Regions from separate parts of the Homo sapiens genome. Here region 2 is linked to region 1. The links are contacts of gene promoters, found by promoter capture Hi-C in human tissues and cell types (Jung and others, 2019). All regions are on one chromosome and are shown on one strand. The core of a region is centred on a gene start or on the middle of the fragment in contact, and the rest is flanking DNA. Distances in the headings are between cores, read along the strand shown.

Region 1 (7,839 bases), core at 3,139-5,638:
CCCAGCCAGCCATGGAGGTGGGTGGGGACACTTTATTTTTGGATATGAGGTTGGAGTCTTCAACTGGACTTGACGAAGTTTTTTAATACCAGGAAGTGACCGAGGGAGTTATGCAGTATGTCCAGGGTAGCATTAAGGGACCTTTAATCAGCAGGGGCGGGAGATTCACCACAGCCCAGCGCGGGGCACACTGGGAGAAAAATAAAACCATTTCCTGTGTGCACCCAGTGGGGTTGAGACTGTTCAATAAACTAGCTATATCTGATGAAGGACTTCATATCCTTAGGGTTAAAGGAAAGTCACTGCATTGTGTTGTGGTGTACTGAATTTATAAATTCTTAGTTGAGGAATAGCCAGATCTTTTTGCAAATCAAAAACTTGAAATGTTAAATGAGGAGGAAAGAAACTCACTAGAGGCAAATTTCTGGATGTAGATAGAGGAGACACTAAAAGAGGTAACTCATAGTTGCCTTTTTCTTTTCTCCCTAAAGTCTAAGAGTTTTTATTTTGTAGTTTTACACAGACATTTACATTTCAATTGATCACAGATTCATTAACATTTGACACGATAGAAAGGGTGTACAGAAACACGTTTGTAAGTGATTTTTAATCCTTGTTCACTTATTTGTCAACCATGTTATTCTGGCATACTATTTAATTTCCATCATAATGTTTTTCAGGGTGCTCTTCTGTTTAATTTTTTTTATTAAGTGTAACTGTGCCAATGATTTTTATATAGGGTAGTGAGGAGGGTCCTCTGTCTCTCTCTCCATTATCAGAGATTTCTAAAGCATTTGCAATGCTTTTTTTTTATTCAGACAAAAATCATTTTAACTTTACGTAACAAATATGCTTTAATTTTTTTACAACTTTCAAGATACTATTATAGCTGTACTGACAAGGAAAAATTGCCGTTGATGATCCATAGCTGATGAAGTGTATGTAGCTACTCTTCCGTGTGGTCTTCGCTATAGAGCCATTTGTAGATTACAGGCCACAGCTTTAGGGACAGGCTCCAGGTTTCTTATTTTTCTTGTTTCAATTCTGCATCATCTATTTTCTTGAATAGCAGTCTCCTAAAATGTAAGCAGTATAAAATGTTGTCACCCATCAGAACAACAGCATGCAAGTGTGTATACAAATACAAGCCATAGTCCTAACTGCCTAATTATACTTGAGTTGAATTGTGTTGCACTTGAAATGAGTGAGATATTGGGGGGATGCTGAATCTGTGATGGGCACTCAGTCCCAAACACTTATCATTGATTCATCTCTCTCCCTCCACACCGCCCCACTCCCAACATCTGATTAGCTGTCAATTCTGCCTCTGTATAACATCCCACAACCTCAGCAGAAATGTCAGTGGTTCTCCCTCTCCTGATGAATGACGCCCCAAGTCCTTGTCCGGGTCCTCAATATCTGCGCTCTCTGCTCTTACTCTAACGGTCTAGACTTCTTTCCTCTCTTCTTCACATCCTTTTTGCTCTTGCCAAAGGGCGCCTCGGCTGTTCTTGGCTCACCTTGCTTTAGTGCCTAAAAATGACCTCCCTCTTCTCACCAGTCTCCGAATGTTCAAGAGAAAGCTGCTTTTGAAAGGCAGGTTTCCACATACAGAAACACTCTCTTTTTTTCTGACCCTCTGCAGGACCTTATTAGTGCCTCTCTTATTTCATTCATCCCGTCAGATATTGAGGGCTTACTATGTGGTAGACACAGTTCTTAGGCTCTGGGCATATGGCAGTGGACAAAAATTATGGGATTTGTAGGACTGAAATTCTAATAAAGGCAATGAACCCTAAATATATGTCAGATGGGATAAGTACCATGGAAAAGAACAAACCTGGAGTGTCCTGAGAAGGTCTCTCAGATAAGGTGACACAATCTGCCACTGTACTTTCTTCAGGTCTTAACTAAAGCATCATGTTCTACTTCATATAAAAAAAATTTTTTTTAAGCATACGCTCTCTACTATAAAAGAACAGGTAGGTAGGTTATTAATTTTTAAATCTTACATTCTGATGTGTACATAGGAGATAATACATATTTCTTAATATAAATAATGATTATAACAGAGTTTATAAGATGAGATCCAGATAAAAGAAAACACTTTGATTAAAAGTTAGGAAAGAAAACCTGCTGCATTTGAGACCTAGATTATTGAGATGGGGTCCTTTGCACCTGAACAACTCTCTCCCATGAGACTTTTTATGTGGGAGAGGTCCAGCGTTTAGACAATATACTGTCATTGCATGGACTTAGTGAGCAGCTATAGGATAAGGAGATTGATGCTTATATGTGGCTTAGGGGAAGCCATCCTATGATTTTATACCTTGAGCCATGCTTATTATACCTGGCCTTCTATAGTTCCCAATTTACAGGTATTTAGTTCCTTGTGTCTTTGCCTCTCTCTCCTGCTAGGAAACTTACTGTCTTAGAAACTTATGTTGAAAAGATGTAGTCATTTTTAAAGTTTCTAGACCACCTCTATATAACTGCCCATGCACTTTGACTGGTTTCCAGGTATTTACCTTGACTGTTTTTGATCGGGATTCTGGATTTCTTGGTGCTGGCAGGTCATGGAGTAAAATAAGTCATTGGCACATGGTGAATGCATGGATCCTTGACACAAATCACTCAGCATCCTGCAGACACTTTTGGCTGTTGTTGTTCTCCCAAACCTTTGGGGCAGGTTAGGAACACGTCTCACGAGGCTCACCTCCATATTTCTTCCAGATCTCAGAGGCAGGTTGGCTGTTGCTCCAGCACTTCTTTCTTCTTGAACGTTCCTCCCAAATCTCAATGGCAAGTTGGCGAAGGAGTGTGGCATTTTATTGACTGCAGGTGTACTCATCTTAATAACATTTTTTGGTCCCCAATCTTTTAATTCCTCAAAATTGAGGCTTCTTTCCCCTTTTGGGTATCCTCTAGGCTATAATTAGAAATGACCATTACAATAACATACTGTTGTTATAAGCAACAGATTTAAACCCCCAATTAACTTAAATCTAGACTTTAATCTGCAGAATTGTTAAAGCTATAAACAAAGTTTGTGTTCATATGTGCAGAATTTTTAAATGATTTGTATTAAGCTTTTTAAAGCAATATAGTTTCTCTGTCCCTAGACTATTGTAAGACAACCATAAAATATTTATAAAATATATATAGTGAATACAGCAATGAGTTCAAGCAGCAGGAACATAATGAAGTACTGAAATGTGGCAAAAGTTTATTTTACTGCAGTTATTCTCTTTTGGTTTTTTTGATTCATGTTGCTTATGGAATATTTTATATATTTTTATAATTTGATTTTAGAGAAACCTCCCACTCATTTTTCATGTTTCTCTTTAAAGGCCAAAGTGGCACATGGAAACACGGTACATCAAAACAGAGATGCTGGCCAGGTTTTGGGGTATAGTTGTAGAAGGCCCAGTGGATTTCTTTTTTATTCTATCTTACTCAGGGTACCACTCTAAAGCTTTCTCAAGAAACCAATTGCATTTTTATTAGAATATAAAATACATTTTTAGCAAAGAACTCATTGGTTTATGGGTTACTGCATCACAAGTATGCCAACTTTGTAGGAACCATCTCAAATACAGAGAATATTTAATTAGATTTAGTCTTTACCATAGGAGCTTGTCCATATGGAAATTTTTAAATGATTGTTTTCTGATTATCCCTTGAGTAAAATGAGTATACACGCTAATTTCATCAGATTTGGAAAACACATAAAAGAAAATAAAAACAATTTGCAATTTTACCATCTACAGGTAAACACTTTACTAAGATATAGATTTAGTACACATTGGCCAGTTTGTAATTGCTAAGCCCAAAAGAAATGTGTTTTTTGTTTGTTTGTTTGTAGTTTAAAACAATTTGAATGTCCAGCTGAAATGTACCCAAATCTTATTTCTGCCAACCATTTATTACAAATATGCACTTGTGAGTTGATTGAAAATTATTAATGCGCTGTATGCTTGCTAAGTACCATACTCACCAGTACAATTGTCATGACAGAGGCCAGCCTGATTGCTGTCGTGCTAAATAAACAAGTGACATTTATACATTGTCAGAGGAAGGCTGAAATTTCACAAAAAAACAGAGTACACACCAACTTACTTCTTAGTCTTTACAAAATCATTAGACTTAGGATTAATATTATGTAATTAATGCTACTCACATTAGAGAGATTTAAAAAACTTACCTCAGAATATTTGTCATAATTTTCTTTGCTGTGAAGATTGGACATCACTAATTCATCTGCACAAAAAATGTTTGATGTTAACAAGCTTGAAGTGGCTAAAGTCAATAAAATGAATAGTTTTGATGAAATAATTTCCATTTTGTCTAAATCTAAAATTAAGTCTCTATGTGCAGCCCAATGTTTATGAGAGGAGAAAAAAATTGTGGTGTTTTTATATCGTCTAAAAACAAAGGAAAGTTTTTTTTAAACAGTGAAATCAATCTCACACATTTTAAGTACTAATATTAATTAGAGTGTACAACTAAAATATGCATGTAAGGAATGTGAATAATTCATTCTGGGAAGACAGCAATGTTTGTGCTTGCAAATTCATTAACTTTGAAAATAATTTTCCTCATTATAAAAGAGCTTCTAATTAGGTAAGTTTGGGGGGATAGTAATTAAGATTCCAAACAGACAGAATGCTTCATTTCTCTAAGCTTAAACAAAAAGTATTTTGTTTTTGGTGTTTGTGTCAATTCTTGAGGGAAGGAAAAGGAAGTATTCAATCCATGCTAGCTATGTTTTTTTTTTTTTAATCTGCACAAAAGAGTTAGGCGTAGTATTTTCAAAATGTCAAGCAAAATTAAGAATGTGAAAAAAATTATAATATCCCAACAAAATGCCATGAATTAGTTTTTTTGTAAAATGCTGTTTGGTTATTAAAAAGCTTCAGGGGTCAATGTTAGCCGTAACATGAAGGATGTGTATATGAGCAAATACTTGATAGGCATTTTGACAAACTGGCGTCTCAGGAGAAGCTGGAGGCAGTCAGGCCCTCTGTATTTGCTCTATGGGTCTTATTTGGTAAAGCTGTGTCAATCACCAAAACTTTCTATCAAGATGCTGCATCCTACCTTCCCTCTCAAAGTCCTTAGGGAGACTAGCAGGGGCTTGGTAAGTCATACACATGCTAACTCTATTGGTCCCAGGACGCATATTATTTAGGTAATCGCGTATTGCCAAAGGTGTGCTGTCATCATGACATTAAAAGAGAATTTACAGAAATAAATGCGCATTTACTGAAATGCCAAAGCGAATCTCTTTTGGAGCAGCTGACTGTTCTTAAATATCTGCCTTATCACTAGACTGCCTGGGTTCTAGAGACACCTTTACTTGTTCCCACCAGTCCCTTCAGCCCTTTCAGGAGAAAAAGACTTGCATGGATTTCCTACAGTCCAGCTACTTCTAGACACAGACAGTTAGAGGTAATTCACAAAGAGTTGTAAAATTGCTCTGTTGTGTCTAGAACTGTGCCACCTCTCACCTCTCTCACCAACCTACCGTATGTAATTTGAGACGTGAGATGGCAGAAGTGAAGATCTTTCTTCATATTGATCTCCAGAACAAGCCAGAAAGTTGAAAAACCACAGTGGGTGAACTCTTGTGATACAAACTTGCCTATGGTCTCTCTTAAGGCATTTGACATCATTGGCTTCATTTGTTTTGGTTTGTAGTAGCCAAGAACCCCACAGTAGGAGGCAATTAATTCAATTCATAGTCTATCGTTAATTTTGTAATGCCATTATTGGATTATTTGGGTTTAATTTCCCTGAGGATTTAATACATTTCTCTTCCAAATTGTTCTTTTGCAAACTGCTGATGGAATTTCTTTGTGTGTGTGTGTGTGTGTGTGTGTGTGTGTGTGTGTATGTATGTGTGTGTAGTCAGTAGATCCAAACTTTTGAGAAATGAATGAATCAAGGGGCAAGTTTTGTTGACTGAATTCACACCCCAGAAAAAGCAGAAGGCATCAGCCTGAGTCTTTTTCAAAATGTATTTTTATCTAGTTGTCATTTTCAGATAAAATGCAAATTAAGCAGCTCACCAGTTTTCAGTGCTGCTACTAATGGGTGTTGGCAGATCCATTAGAATTTTCCTGATGACAATCAGCATACACATATGACTTAATTGCTCCCTGCCTCCACCAGGTTAGGACTCCACGTTTGGAAGGTAATTAGAATTATCTTATTAATATGGGGCTTGGGCCAGGCACGTGGCTCATGTCTGTAATCCCAGCACTTTGGGAGGCTGAGGCTGGCAGATCACCTGAGGTCAGGAGTTCAAGACCAGCCTGGCCAACATGCTGAAACTCCATCTCTACTAAAAATACAAAAATTAGCCAGGAATGGTGGCACATGCCTGTAATCCCAGCTACTCAGGAGGCTGAGGCAGGAGAATCGCTTGAATCCAGGAGGTGGAGGTTGCCGTGAGCTGAGATCACACCATTGCACTCCAGCCTGGATGACAGAGCGAGACTCTGTCTCAATAAAAACAACCAACCAACAAACAAACAACAACAAAAAAAAAACGGGTCTTGGCTCTTTTCAATTATATCTTCATTTAACTTTGAAAGTGTTAACAGATATAGAACATACAAAGTATGAAATCACCATAAATCTTTTGTTGAAATGTGCTACTGCATACACACATACAGATTAATTGGTTTAGGGTCTCTTGGTGAGACATATGAGGATATGAAAAATTTAAAAAAATCTCTCTCTCGGACTTGTGGCATTTAAATACATGCTTCATTTGCTAAGATTTTAGTGGCTCTAGGACTACTCAATTCTAAGCCTATCTCTTCAGGCTGGTCACTTCTCCTGAGCTTTTGAACCTCCCACTCAGCTTCCTACCAGACAGTGCTGTTTGGACATCCCACAAACATTTCAAGTTCAGTATGTCTGAAATGGAATTTATCTTTTCCATACCTATTTTTCCTCCTATGTTTCTCATTTCGATGAATAGTACTGCATCTGTCAGGGTCCAATCAGGAGACAGAAAACACACAGTAACTTGAACAGGAAGTGATTAATACAAATAATTATTAATTATAACAGGAAATTAACTATAAAGGGGTGAAGAATACACTACAGTTGAGAGACAATATCCAAGGAAAGAACAAGCTGGTTGGAATTTAGATCATATTGGAGAAAGTGTGATGGCAGGGAAGTTTGCTGCATTGCTCCTGGCCAGAACTTATCTGTAGTCTCAAGCAGGAAACCTTTTGGAATGTAGGTAGGTCAGGCAACTTCCGGAATATCTGTGAGACTCCTAGGAATCTCCCACTGAAACCTGATGGGGGTGAGCACCATTGGATGACCCCACATGTACTACTGGCAGCTGCACACAGAGAAGCAAGCAGATGCATGATTGGATCAGGAAAAGTACCTCTTTGCTTTAGTAACCCTTCAGTACCTTCTACTGACAGAACTTAAAATTATGCCTGCTGCAAAGGAGAAATTCTTACTGGGTCCATCTCCCTTATCTCAAAGCATGCATTGAAGGGTAGATGTAGAGCTATTGCAATAGGTCTATAACTGGCAAGGTTACTATCATCCATTCATTTATCCAGGCTAAATTCCCTTGTGAGATCCCTATTTCCTCCCACATCTTATTCTACAGTTGATGATAATTGTGTTTCTAGTTTTGGGCTGTTACACTCAATAATAATAAAAGCCAATTTTTAAAAGCATTTATCACGTTCCAGAAATTCTTCTAAGCATTCTGTGAATTAACTCACTTATCTTTCATAATAATCCCATGAGCAGCTACTATTATTGTGCCTACTCTTCAAAAAGGGAGACTGAGGTGCA
Region 2 (7,839 bases), core at 3,416-5,915, 38 kb before region 1:
AGACGGGGTTTGCCATGTTGGCCAGGCTGGTCTTGAACTCCTGACTTCTGGTGACCTGCCTGCCTCGGCCTCCCAAAGTGCTGGAATTACAGGCGTGAGCCACCACGCCTGGCCAACATTTTTAATAATTGCGGCAAGTCAGCAAGAACACAGAGGAAACAAGAGGGTGTGAGTGAATTGTCCTTCTGTCTGTGCTGTGGTAAACAAAAGCAGTGGCCTCACAGTGAAAGTAGGATGTGAGCTACTCTTCTAGGGGAGGGGAGTGGTTGTGAGAGAGTGGTTGTGTTTTTATTACTTCTACCCAAATTCCTCCAGCTACTCCCTCCTCAGGTTTTCTGTTGTTCTTTTACTTTAGAACAAAGGCCCTCAGCATTAGGATCCAGTACAGGAGTTGGCAAGCTCTTTCTCCAAAGGCCCAGATAGTGAAGGTGCCAGGCTCCACGGGCCACATGCGATCATACAGTCTCTGTTGCATGTTCTTCTTTCATTTTACAACTCTTTAAATGTGGAAAGCACCCATTCCTAGCTCACTGGCTGGAATGCGTGACTCCCGATCTAGGCAAAAGACTGTCTTCTGTCTGGTGAAAGAAACAAGTTGTTCATTTATTCTGCCACGAGTCATGGGTCTTTGTTTGGTTGTCTATGCTTTGCTGTGTTTGCTGTGAGATTACTTTTTGTATCCTTGGTGTTACACGGAACAATCCCATCATTTGAAGACTTGACTGGAACCCTGTAAATGAGGACTTGTATGGATTACCATTGTGTTATTGAATCTGTAATTCCATGTGTAGCTAAAAGGCAATTCAGTAAAATACAATGAGATACACAGGCACATGTTATCGGAGGAAGACCCTGAAGCCTCCAGTGACATTTCTGGTCTTCTTTCCTCTTCTCTCTGCCTTTTTCCTATTTCTGCAGTGATTTGAACACTCAGCCAAGCTGCAGCGGACAATCACCACGTACATGTTCCTTGCCCTGGAGCTGGACATGACCCCTTTCATGGCCTCCAGGTAGGCGGGGGTGTTGGCCTGTTCTGTGTCCAGAGGGACTGTGATCAGGACAGGAACCCAGCTCGGAGCTCCTGTGATAAGATGACTGTTGATATTAATATAAACCCCACCTTCCAAAAACCTATTTATCCTAATCCTAAGATAAGACACATTTTAATGAGTTTTTTTTTCCAGGTACACTGTTTTTGCTTTGAATGTTTCTCTAACAATTTTGAATCCACTTTCAAACTGGCAAAGTCATCAAGGTGGGATCACAGCGAGAAGGCAGAGCTTTAATTGGTGGAACAGGTGTTGAAGTACAGACAGACATCGTTGCTTTTGCAGTTGTAGATTGCATTTTCCTTTTCAAATATGTAATATCGTGGGGCCCTTGGAATTTAAGCCTCCAGAATACCATGCTGTTTACTAATGTGTGAGACACATATGAGTTTCCTATGGAACTGTGACAAACAACCAAAAACTTGGAAGCTTAGAACCACAGAAATTAATTTTCTCACAGTTCTAGAGGTTGGGAATCTGAAATCAAGGGGTTGGCAGGGCCCCACTTCCTACAAAGGGTCTAGGGGGATTCCATTCCTCACAGCCTCCAGCTGCTGGTGTTTCCATATGTTCCTTCTGTGGCCGTGTCCCTTCCCTGGCTTCCAGGTCACACAGCCGGCTCCCCCGAGTGTGTGTCCAATTTCCCTCTGCTTCTCTGTCAGAAACAGTGGTCATTGGATTCGGGGCCTAGGCAGATCATTCCAGGAGTGTCTCATCTCGATATCCTTACCTTGATTCCATCTGCAAATACCGTTTTCACAAATGAGGTCCCAGTCTCACGTTCTGAGGGTTGAGATGCGGATGTTATGATTTGGAGGATGTTATTTTTTAGAGGGCCACCGTCCCAGTGCCAGCACTGTAAAAAGCATGTTGCCTTTTGTTAGTTATCAGCCTCTTCCTGGTGTCCTTTCTCATGGCTGTCCCACCCATCTTGTGGCACACAGATGTCCTCTTGAATAACACAAGATCACCAGAGTCAGAGCTCTGTGTTGTCAGCCTGACCACGACGTCACATACCGAGGGAGGTGACAGTACTGTTGCTAAGGTCAGGGTCTCAAAGATCTTGTGTTTTCGGCCAACCACAGCCATGGGAAAACACGGCAATAACGCGTGGGACTTCCTGTTCCCAGCACCCGCATCTCCCCCATCTCACCAGGAGAGGTGCTGGTGGAGAAATAATGAGCAGCAATCTTTGCCCCTTTTGAGGAAGCAGTTGTCTAGGTTGTGGAATGGATTTGACTTACCCTTTTCAAATGAACCCTTTACATGTGGGAGGAAGAGTGCCTTCACCATCTCTGTGTCACACACCAAAGTCACATTTGTCCCAGATCCAATTCCCATCACCAGGCCCATTCAGGACCCAAGTTGGAAGGGCCAGGGTCCAGGCCAGGTGACTCTGGGACCCAGGTGGGCTCTGTCTCGGTATCCTCACAAAACGTGGGGTGATATTTACCTGAAACATAAAGTGCACCCCAGTGCAGTGTCTGCATGGTCGGGCCCGGATAAGTGTTGGTATCATGAGAGCCTTGTGTCTCTGTGTCTGATGATTTTAAATGATGCTGAATTCTGCTGTTGTTTGTTATAGCAAAGAGAGCGGGATGAATGGACAGTCCCAGCAGCCCATGGACAGTCTCAATAACAACAAGTAAGTGGTGCTCAGCGGTGCAGGTGTCAGGGGCCTGTGGCGGAGAGCCAAGGGTGGGCTCCTGTCTGCCCTGCAGGGCGCCCAGCAGAGCTCCTGCCACTGACCAGCTTCCTGCCTGGCTGTCTGCGGCTCTGCTAGGAGAGGCTGCTCCATGCGGCGCCACAGATGCTCCCTCCTGTTGGAGGAGCCCATCTCAACTCCTGGGTGCTGGGAGAAGGGAGGTTCCATCTGGAAAGCTCAGTGTCCATTCTTCTTGCCTTGTTTTGGACTAAGCTCATGCACTAGGCCCCACCTGTGGGGTCAGGATAGACCACATGGATCGGGAGGCTTCAGGAACTGTGCTGAAGATGGATCAGGTGACGGTTGTGCTCTGGGTGGGAGGAACAAAACAATGGCCTCCCAGAATTTTGTTTAAAAATATTCCCCCTTTTTGGTCAGGTTCTCACTTAGGTAAGAGTGTGACCAAAACTTAGGGCCTTCGCGCTACTCTCAGTTACCATCATTTTGGGTTTCTGGTCTCAGCACGTCATTGATAGGTTGCGGTGTCCTCAAGGTTGCATATTTCTTTCAGCTCTTGTCATTCTGGTTGAAGGGAGACCATGTGATGTTCTAGAGACGGCTGCATGCAAGCATTTAAAACCTTCGAGACAATACAGTGCACAAGGGAGACTATTCTTATGACTATTGGGAGGATAAAACAAAGAGTTTGCAGTTTGCTCCTTACCCAAGGTCCCCATAAGTCAAACATCCTAAAATCAAATAGAGCAAAGAATGAGCTAGATAAAGAGTCTACTCACTTAACAAGTAGTCTCTTTGTTAATCCCCTACCACTGAATTTCTATAATTTTCACCTGATGTATTTTTCCATAGGCCACAAGTGCCAGCAGTGGCACAGATACTTCTTGTTCTGCCAATTCTATCATAACTTACACAAGAGAATTTAAAGTTTCTGTGTCCTTACCTTTATAATTTGCTACAGAGTCTATCACGAGGGATACATTTCTAATCATTGCTTTTTTTACTTTAAACCATGGAAAAAGGGCCTGACAAATGATGCCCTTCTAGAAGAGTGAAGACCTCCTGGCAGTGTACTTTTTAACCCATGATGTGGGTTAAAAGGAATGAACCAATGTTTTGTTCATAACTGATTACGAGGCAATGTATGTACCATTAAAGTTTTGTACCTACATTGGGTCTTCATCTTTTATCTATCAAAGTATAAGTTTATCCATGTATAAGGCTGGCTGTAAACTTCTTCACAAATAAAAGTATACCCCACAAGTGCACATAACAGACTGACCCCCTAACCACTTCTATTGTTTATAGAAGCATAAGCAGGAAAAAATATTCAAAGATTAGAGTTTCATGATAATAGAAGTCTTAATCTGTGAACATGGAAAAAGCTGTTCACATCAAGATGCCATCTTCTTCTGGGGAGAAACTTTCCTGGCTAGTTTTACCTTAAGGATTTCAATGGGTGTAGAGTTCCAAGAGTGATGAGGGACCTTTCTCAGTTGTGAGATTATGAACCCAAAGTTCAAGGTCCTGAAATTTTGTAATAGTGTGGATGGCAAGGACAGTTTTTCTTTGACGTTCTCAGAAGATCCAAACCATAAAAAGTTTTCTTTACCTGGTGAAACTACACTGTAGCATAATAATCTGCTGTGATAACATCAGCCCTCTGGCATGGGAAAGCTTTTTTTTTCTTTTTTTGGAAACAGAGTCTTGCTGTGTCACCCAGGCTGGAGTGCAATGGTACGATCTCGGCTCACTGCAACCTCTGCCTCCTAGGTTCAAGTGATTCTCCTGCCTCATCCTTCTGAGTAGCTGGGATTACAGGCACCCGCCACTATGGCTGGCTAACTTTTTGTATTTTTAGTAGAGGCAGTATTTCGCCATTTTGGCCAGGCTGGTCTCGAACTCCTGACCTCAGGCGATCCACCTGCCTCAGCCTCCCAAAGTGCTGGGATTACAGGCATGAGCCACCGTGCCTGGCCAGGAAAGCTTTTATACAATCAGAAAACATGCACTGAAAATAACAGTTGCGTGAAATCCCTTTACGAAATGTTCAAATGGCCCACCAGGTGACCAAATGTACCTGAAGCTTTAATTGTTTTCCCATGAATATAGAGCCAAACATTGGTTATAAACTATTTTAGTAATTTGTAAGTTACTACATGAATGTATTCACTTTGGATTATTTTATCTTTTCCATGATGAGTCATGGAATGCAGAACTTTTAATAATAAAAACTTTAAGGACTCAAGAAGGACAAGGTGGTCATCCTGGTTCTCCATGAGTCCATGCTTATTAACATTAGATGTATATCCTCTCGAATACCAGTAGTTTTTCTAAATTAGGTGCATAGCACTGACAACTGATGAGTTATCAAAGGTAATTTGACTTAGACTGTGAAGTTTATTCAAATTGTATATCTAAACAATTTCAGTATCAGCTGGTTTAACATGAGAATCTGACTTTTCTTGGCATTTAATTTTTTTTTGTTCTACTTGGGTTAGTAGCTTTATACAAGGAAATTTGGTTATTTCTGTGGTTTACAGTAACTTAACATAATAACCATAATTATAATTGATAGCATATACTTACACATTAGAATTTTAGAAATCCCATACAATTTTGGAATATATATTAGTATTATTTACAAAAACATAACCTAAAGAAGATTGAACATCATTTTGGCAATCCCATATACCTAAACATGTCAAATAATCTCGTTTACTTCTTTTCCAGATGTTTTCAAGGGCCCTCTGATCAATTCAAAAAGCTAGGCATCAGGAAAGAAAATTTTAAAACTGAAGTTTGATTTTGGAATTCCAGATTACCATAAACTATTTATTTTGCCAAAATGATAACTCAGAAATTTTAAAGAAGCGAAAACCTTTTATAATCTTTTACAAAAAAAAATTCTTCTGTTCTTACACACCTTGCATGTAAAACTGTTTCTAGTAGTCTTAATTACATGTTATAATGGTGACTCTCAGCAATTTTAATTTTAATGTAAAACCTGGTAAGTTATGTTCTGATAAGGTTTGACTATTTCCAGCATTAGCCAGGGGTGCGGCCACCTCCACATGTCCTCAGGCCTTACCTGGTGGAAAGCAGACAAGTTAAACAACTTTCAAAAGCTAAAGGAGCAGTTTATGACCTTAAAGCATTTAGCAAACCTGAAATTTGAGCATAACTTAGGCCACATGTTTACATTTTGAAGACATTTGTATTTTACCAATAATCTTTAAGACTGTCTTTATTTCCCAAAGATTACACAAGTCACATGAACTAAATAAAAGGCATTACATTTTTCACTTTTTTGACAAAATATTTGATTTAAGCTCTTATTATTATTAAACCAATTAATTAAAGCTCTTTTGTATCAATTAAAACTTTACAGAGGAGATAAACAGTGACTTTTACTATTTATTTAACCAGTTTGTACAGAGAGAAAGAGGCCAGTGACTGGCTGGTAAGAAATTCTTACCCTTTTGCCAGCTTGCCACGTTTCTGGGTTCTCTCTCCCTGACCGGCCCTAGTTGACCCCGCTTGACTGTATGCAAACAAACACATTGCCATGAATTAGGAATATTCACAAATAGTTTACAAATTTTGGAGAAATTAGGCAGAGAGAGAGAGAAATGTGACTCAAATTCTATTTATTAGAGTATACTCAACACACTTAAAGTATCAGGGAGCCTAGAATCCAAAAAACTAGTTTTGGATAGAAAGCTGGTGTGCTCCATTAACTCCTGTGGCCCAACAAAGGCAGTGTAGAAATTCCAGATAAATGGAACAAATAATGATTTGCTAGAAATGCATAGGAAACAAAATAAGTATTCACAGAACCAAGTAAAAGCCTTCCACTAGGAACTAAAAAAAAAAAATCATGGTTTTATATATATGCATACACATATACATACACACAAAGCTAGAGGAGAATAAACAGCAAATGAATGAAAACTAGAAGCAGAAACAAAAAACAGGAGACCAACCCTAAATTTTCCTACTCAATATACCTTGGAGGCTACAGTGTTACTGATCCCCAAAACCCACATATTACATATTTTATTCCTGATACACAATTTAATATCCTTAAGTTCATCAATATTATTATAAATTCTGTGCAATTAAGAAATTCACTTTAGGCACATGACCAGTAAGTACTCTAGCACTATCCAAGCAAAACAGTAAACAGAGTGAAGCAATGCAAGCATGTATGTGAAATTTGGCTCCACACTAAACCCAGCTTCATACTTAACTATATTTAAAAAAGAATTGCCAAACTGCTGATTCATTTCTTTACAATACTTCTTATTTTACTTTAATCAAGACTTGGCTTTAACAATGAAAATGTTAATTAGCCAAATGTCTCCATTTCTCTATCAGGTTTTAAAGAATATTTTATTATTTAAATTTTTTTCATCTTTCTCCCCTACTTAATTATTCCTTACTACATTGTTTCATAAATAACCTTTTCAAATCTGTAATTTAAGCTAACTTTCAGATAACTTCTGAATTAGACAAAATTATTCTTTTTTTCACTAATAACATAACCCTTTCTAGCATATTTTGTATACAGAAGTATGTGTTAACTGGAATTTTTATTCTTAGTAACCTAAAACTTTAGTGAAACCCTAAAAAGCAAGAAATCCTGAACTATCAGATATGGACATTTACAGATAAAAACAACTCCACAACCTTTTTCCAGAGTGTTTCTGGGAGGGATGGTCCCCCTGGGTCTTCTCCAGGACCAAGGCCCCAGAGTTCTCTTGTTCTTTTTCAGTGACCCAGGAAAACGAAGCCCCCTCCTGTATTGACAGCTGGGAATTGTGGAGTCTGCCATCCCTCCTCTTGAGATGGGGTCTCCACTAGCACAGAGGCTGCTTTGGAGTCAATAGATCATTTTTTCCCCAAACCAAACACCCTCTTTGCTTGGCTGGTGTTGTTCCTAAGGCAGCTTCACTGGTGAGAGTGAGTGAGGATTGAAGTAGAATAGAGCAGTCACCAGATGTCTTGCTTCCTACAGAAAACTGGATATCTTTGTGGTCCCTGAATGATCCCAGGAGGCTGAACCTATAAAGACGTCTGGTCCCTGACCCCTTCTGCCTCCAGGTGCCCAGAACAGCCTATCGT

What was found. The method cuts DNA at HindIII sites, captures the fragments that hold promoters and counts their contacts. A contact is called where the count stands out against the background at its distance.
Region 2: a contact is called between a fragment that was not itself captured here and the fragment with the promoter of NPVF in region 1, in 2 of the 25 tissues and cell types used here (hippocampus and mesenchymal stem cells).

The regions. Positions count from the first base shown.
Region 1 is chr7:25,224,098-25,231,936 of GRCh38, forward strand. It overlaps NPVF (neuropeptide VF precursor), which reads right to left and starts at 4,389. Exons shown (of 3, transcript NM_022150.3): 1 at 4,205-4,389; 2 at 2,529-2,929; 3 at 473-1,076. The coding sequence starts at 4,342. The coding sequence ends at 1,025. The HindIII fragment of the contact is 3,738 bases long and covers 3,883-7,620 here.
Region 2 is chr7:25,186,030-25,193,868 of GRCh38, forward strand. The region is part of intron 1 of LOC124901603 (a long non-coding RNA gene); the gene reads left to right. LOC105375191 (a long non-coding RNA gene) reads left to right here and starts at 876. Exons shown (of 3, transcript XR_927102.3): 1 at 876-1,010; 2 at 2,635-2,694; 3 at 7,733-7,839. RefSeq lists an enhancer at 2,305-2,806. The HindIII fragment of the contact is 3,464 bases long and covers 2,934-6,397 here.